2 separate regions of the Homo sapiens genome follow, and region 1 is linked to region 2. The links are contacts of gene promoters, found by promoter capture Hi-C in human tissues and cell types (Jung and others, 2019). All regions are on one chromosome and are shown on one strand. Each heading gives the region's core, a stretch centred on a gene start or on the middle of the fragment in contact. The rest is flanking DNA. Distances are from core to core; before and after follow the strand shown. Region 1 overlaps GRB2 (growth factor receptor bound protein 2). Region 2 holds the start of CDR2L (cerebellar degeneration related protein 2 like).

Region 1 (2,700 bases), core at 75-2,574, 390 kb before region 2:
TGTTTGTTTTTTGAGACAGTCTCACTCTGTTGCCCAGGCTGAAATGCGGTGGCGAGATCTCAGCTCACTACAACCTCCGCCCTCCTGTGATTCTCCTGCCTCAGCCTCCCAAGTAGCTAGGATTACAGCTGCCCACCACCACGCTCAGCTCATTTTTGTATTTTTAGTAGAGACGGTGTTTCACCATGTTGGTCAGGCTGGTCTCGAACTCCTGACTGCAGGTGATCCTCCCCCCCACCTCGGCCTCCCAAAGTGCTGGAATTACAGGCGTGAGCCACTGCACCTGGCCTGGGTTTGGGATTTATATTGTCAACTGAAACTAAGACTATTGAGGCAGAAATGATTTCATAAAGGTTTATTGGAAGGCCTGGCAAATGAGAATCGACCTGGGAAGACACACCAGCAGACTTGGGGGTTGTTCTGAAGTCTGTCACAAGGTGAAAGATGTTTTTGTTTTGCTGTTTGTTTCTTCGTGGGTTGTTTTCTTTTTTAGAGTCTTACTCTCTTGCCCAGGCTAGAGTGTAGTGTCATGATCTTGGCTCACTGCAACCTCTGCCTCCCGGGTTCAAGCAGTTCTACCACCTCAGCCTCCCTAGTAGCTGGGACTACAGGCGTGTGCCACCATACCCGGCTAATTTTTGTACTTTTAGTAGAGACAGGGTTTTGCCATGTTGGCCAGGCTGGTCTCTAACTCTTGACCTGAAGTGATCCACCTGCCTCAGCCTCCCAAAGTACTGGGATTACAGGCGTGAACTACCACACCCAGCCTTTTTTTTTTTTTTTTTTTTTTTTTTTCTGAGACAGGGTCTCGCTCTGTTGCCTGGGCTGGAGTGCAGCCTCAACTTCCTAGGCTCAAGCACTTCATCCACTTCAGCCTCCCGAGTAGCTGGGACAGCAGGTGAGCACCACCATGCCCAGCTAACTTTTTGTATTTTGTAGAAACAAGATCCCGCCATGTTGCCCAGGCTGATCTCGAACTCATGGCCTCAAGCAGTCCTCCTGCCTTGACCTCCCAAAGTGTTGGGATTACAGGCATGAACCACTCTGCCTGGCCACTTTTTGTTTGCAATAAACATGGGGTCTCATTCTGTCACCCCAGGCTGGAGTACGGTGGCCCCACCATAGTTCATTGCAGCCTCGAACTCCTGGGCTCAAGTGATCATCTCACCTCAGTCTCCTCAGTAGCTGGGACTACAGATGCGCACCACCACACCCTGTATTATATTTAAAAATGTAACTTTTAATATTTTTTTTTTGTAGCGGGGGGTCACTATGTTGCCCAGGCTGGTCTCGAGTGATCCTCCCATCTCAGCCTCCCAAGTAGCTCGGATTATAGATGTGAGTCACTGGGCCCAGCTATGAAGGTCTGTCTTTATGTTTTTGAGACAGGGTCTGGCTCTCTTACCCAGGCTGGAGTGCAGAGGTACAATCATGGCTCAGTACAGCCCCAACATTCCAGGCTCAGTTGATCCTCCCACCCTAGTCTCTGGAACTACAGGTATCCACCACCATGCCCAACTAGTTTTTGTTTGTTTGTTTGTTTTGTTTTGTTTTGTAGGGATGGAGTCTCATTATGTTGCCCAGGCTTGTCTCAAACTTCTGGGATTAAGGGATCCTCTCACCTTGGCCTCCCAAAGTGCTGGGATTACAGATTACAGGTGTAAGCCACCTTGCCTGGCCTGTGAAAGGTTTTTAGGAAAGTTTAAAAGAAGGAAGGGTACTCCTCCTCATACCAGAGTTGTCTTTTCATTGGATGGTACAATATGTAAGTTATAATCGTTGGTTACAAATTATGTTATACAGGCTAAAAATGTCTATGTGCAAGACAATCAGTAGAAGTTCATGCTTCACTAATCTTTTTTTTTTTTTTTTGAAACAGAGTCTCCCTCTGTTGCCCAGGCTGAAATGCAGCAGTGCAGTCTCAGCTCACTGCAGCCTCCACCTCCCGCATTCAAGAGATTTTCTTGCCTCAGCCTCCTGAGTAGCTGGGATTACAGGAGCATGCCACCAGGTCGGGTTAAAAAATTTTTTTTTTTTTTTTTTTTTTTGAGACAGAGTCTCTGTCTGTCACCCAGGCTGGAGTGCAGTGGCACAATCTCGGCTCACTGCAACGTCTGCCTCCCAGGTTCAAGCAATTCTCCTGCCTCAGCCTCCCAAGTAGCTGGGACTATATAGGCGCATGCCGACACGCCTGGCTGATTTCTTGTATTTCAATAGAGATGGGGTTTAACCGTGTTGCCTAGGCTGGTCTCAAACTCCTGAGCTCAGCCAATCCGCCTGCCTTGGCCTCCCAAAGTGCTGGGATTACAGGCGTGAGCCACTGCGCTCATGCAGGCCCCGGTAATTTTTTTTTTTTTTTTTTTTTTCTGAGACGGAGTCTTGCTCTGTCGCCCAGGCTGGAGTGCAGTGGCGCAATCTTGGCTCACTGCAACCTCTGCCTCCTGGGTTCACGCCATTCTCCTGCCTCAGCCTCCCGAGTAGCTGGGACTACAGGCGCCCACCACCACGCCCGGCTAAATTTTTGTATTTTTAGTAGATACAGGGTTTCACCGTGTTAGCCAGGATGGTCTCGATCTCCTGACCTCGTGATCCACCTGCCTCTGCCTCCCAAAGTGTTGGGATTACAGGCTTGAGCCACTGCGCCCGGCCAGTCCCCAGTACTTTTTGTATATTTGTAGAGACGAGGTTTCACCATATTTG
Region 2 (2,700 bases), core at 54-2,553:
CCCAACAGCCCCACCCCCCACTCCCAGTGATGTCATTTCGGCCACCTCATCACCAGCTTCTAACCCCCTTCCAGTCGCCCTTTCTGTCCTCAGATGGCAACTGGGGGCAGCGGAGATGTATCCCTCTTTATTCGGTCTCTCGCCTGGCACACTGGCCGGGATTCCCGAACCTGACCCCCTCCAAACCATGAGCCATTTGCAAGGGGACCGGGCAGGGGAGGGCTAAGCGACTCCTGACTCTCGAAGGCAGATGGGAGACTTGACTTTCTGCTTCTTCACCAGCAAAGACGCGGTACCACTTCTCCCTGAGTAGGAAGCGAGTTAGGGAAACTTTCTAGGAGTCTTAGAGCTCATAATTCCTGTCAGGGACGGGTGCTGCTGGATTTGGCGTGAGATAACTTCCCTCTACACACAAGCCACCCTCCCAGCAAAACATGACGAAGGAGCCGCCTCCCGGCCTCAGAAGACTCCTAGCTAGCGCTCAGGCCCCGTAACAATACCAGGGGCGGCCGAGCAGTTGCTGCCTCCAGGACGGGGTGGGCGAGCTGGATGACGGATGCCCGGTCGTCTGGGAAAATAGGAAGACCGCCCCCCGCCCCCCACTTTTGCAGGTCTCCGCCCGTCCGGTCCGCGTCTTCTCCGGCAGCGCCCCCTCTCTCCACGTCCCGGTTCTCCAGACGCGTCCCTCCTCCGAGTCGGGCGCGCCCGGTCCAGCCCAGCCCCTCCCGGGGTGATAGCGCCCAACAATGGAGAAGCGGACAGGGGTCACCGGGCGCTCCCCGCCTTCCTGTCCCGGTCGCCCCCGCGCTCACCCTGCTCCAGGTCCTGCTGGTCGTACCAGGACTCCTCTTCCTCCGCGGAGAAGTCCTCCATCCCGGCGGCTCTCCGCATGGCCCCGCGGGCGGCGGGCGGGTGCTGCGGCGGCGCAGCTCAGGGCCGGTGCGCGCGGCCCGGGACAATGCGGCTGAGGCGGGCCGGGCCTCCAGCGTCGGGAACTCGGGCTACAGAGCCCGCGCCGCGCCCCCTCGCCATCAACCGCTCGCCGGGAGCCCACGCGGGGCCTGGCGCTTTGCCAGGGTCCGGCCCGGCCGGGGTCCCGCAGAGCCGGGGGCACCGGGCTGCGGCGACACAAAGGGTGGAGTGGCAGGGACGGCGGGTGGGACAGTGGCAAGGAGGATCCGGGCCCGCAGGCGGGTCTGGGGCGCTAGGAGCGCGCGGGTGCCGTGGCGGGCGCCCCCTGCCCGGCTCGGGTCCGCGCTGCTCCTGGCCCGCCCGGCGACAACCGGAGCCGCCGCTGCATCTTGGCGGAGCCCGCCTGCAGCTTGCGGAGCTCGGCTCCGCGGGGTGGGGCCTGCCGCCGCCGACCAATCAGGAGATGTATGCAAAGCTGGAGGCGGGGCCGAGGGCGGGACCCTCCTGGTGTCTTGGTCTGGGAATTGCTTGATCAACCCTTTCGTCCTACTTCCCCCTACGACCTATTCAGTTTATGTCTCATGTCTAAAATTATGCTATTTTAGAAGTTGTCGTCTCTCCTAGATCTCCTGGAAGCAAGAATATTGTTTCTCTTTCACAGCTGGCTACTCACTTCCTAGAACAGGCTGCTCACCAGTCGGGCGCGATGCCTGACTCCTGTAATTCCAGCACCTTGGGAGGCCAAGGCGGGCAGATCGCCTGAGGTCAGGGGTTTCGAGACCAGCCTGGCCAACATGGCGAAACCCCGTCTCCATTAAAAATACAAAAATTAGCTGGGCATGGTGGCGCATGCCTACTCGGGAGGCTGAGGCAGGAGAATCGCTTGAACCCTGGAGGCAGAGGTTGCAGTGAGCCAAGATAGCGCCACTGCACTCCAGCCTGGGCGACAGAGGGAGACTCTGCCTCAAAAAACAAACAAACAAAAAACAAACAACATGCTGGTCATTGATACCTTCCATCGACATTCTTTGAATGAATGAATACTAATTTACAGTTGCCTTTGGGAACTGCGTGTTTAAGTGCTTGTGGCTAGAAACCACAGGCTGAAAGTGGCAAAGTTTGAGGGTGTGTTACCTGCATTCAAGGTTCTGTTTTCCTTTCCTTGGGACCCATATCCTATATCCAATTATACCCATTAAAACTATACACACTTGCATCTGTCCAAGCATTCTTTCCTTAGAAGAGTGTTCGGACTCAAGCATTCACGTAACTCATTTTTATTGGGACCCTAATGTGCTGGTGCCGTTGAGAATCTCTGAATAATGTTGTGATATACCCAACGAATGACTTGTATCCAGAATACAGAAAGAACATCTGCATAGTCATAAGAAAAAGGCACGCAACCCAGTAGAAAAGTGGGTAAAAGATTTGACCAGGTAATTCACAAAAAAGGATACACAAATAACTGAATAAATATGCAACAAGGTACTGAACTTCTTTAGCCATCAGAAAAATGCAAATGAAAACCACAATGAGGTATCACTACCCAATCACCAGAGTGGCTTTAGGGAAAAAAAAAAAAAAAAAAAAGGCCAGGCGTGGTGGTTCATGCCTATAATCCCAGAACTCTGGGGAGGCCGAGGTTGGGAGGATCACTTGAGCCTGGAGTTCAAGAGCAGCCTGGGCAACATAGCAAGATCCTATTTCTATAAAAAAATTTAAAAATAAAAATTAGGTGGGCATAATGACACACGGCTGTAGTCCCAGATACTTTGGGAGGCTGAGGTG

What was found. Contacts are between HindIII fragments. The study calls those that stand out against the background at their distance.
Region 1: a fragment that was not itself captured here is called in contact with the fragment with the promoter of CDR2L in region 2 in 1 of the 25 tissues and cell types used here (aorta).

What each region holds. Positions count from the first base shown.
Region 1 is chr17:75,375,693-75,378,392 of GRCh38, reverse strand. All of the region lies in intron 2 of GRB2 (growth factor receptor bound protein 2), which reads left to right. Among named protein-coding and RNA genes, the nearest start is that of GRB2, 29 kb to the left of the region's middle. The HindIII fragment of the contact is 7,732 bases long and covers 1-2,700 here.
Region 2 is chr17:74,986,235-74,988,934 of GRCh38, reverse strand. CDR2L (cerebellar degeneration related protein 2 like) reads right to left here and starts at 1,303. Exons shown (of 5, transcript NM_014603.3): 1 at 813-1,303. The coding sequence starts at 891. RefSeq lists silencers at 1,208-1,297, 1,318-1,397 and an enhancer at 964-1,465. The HindIII fragment of the contact is 16,458 bases long and covers 1-2,700 here.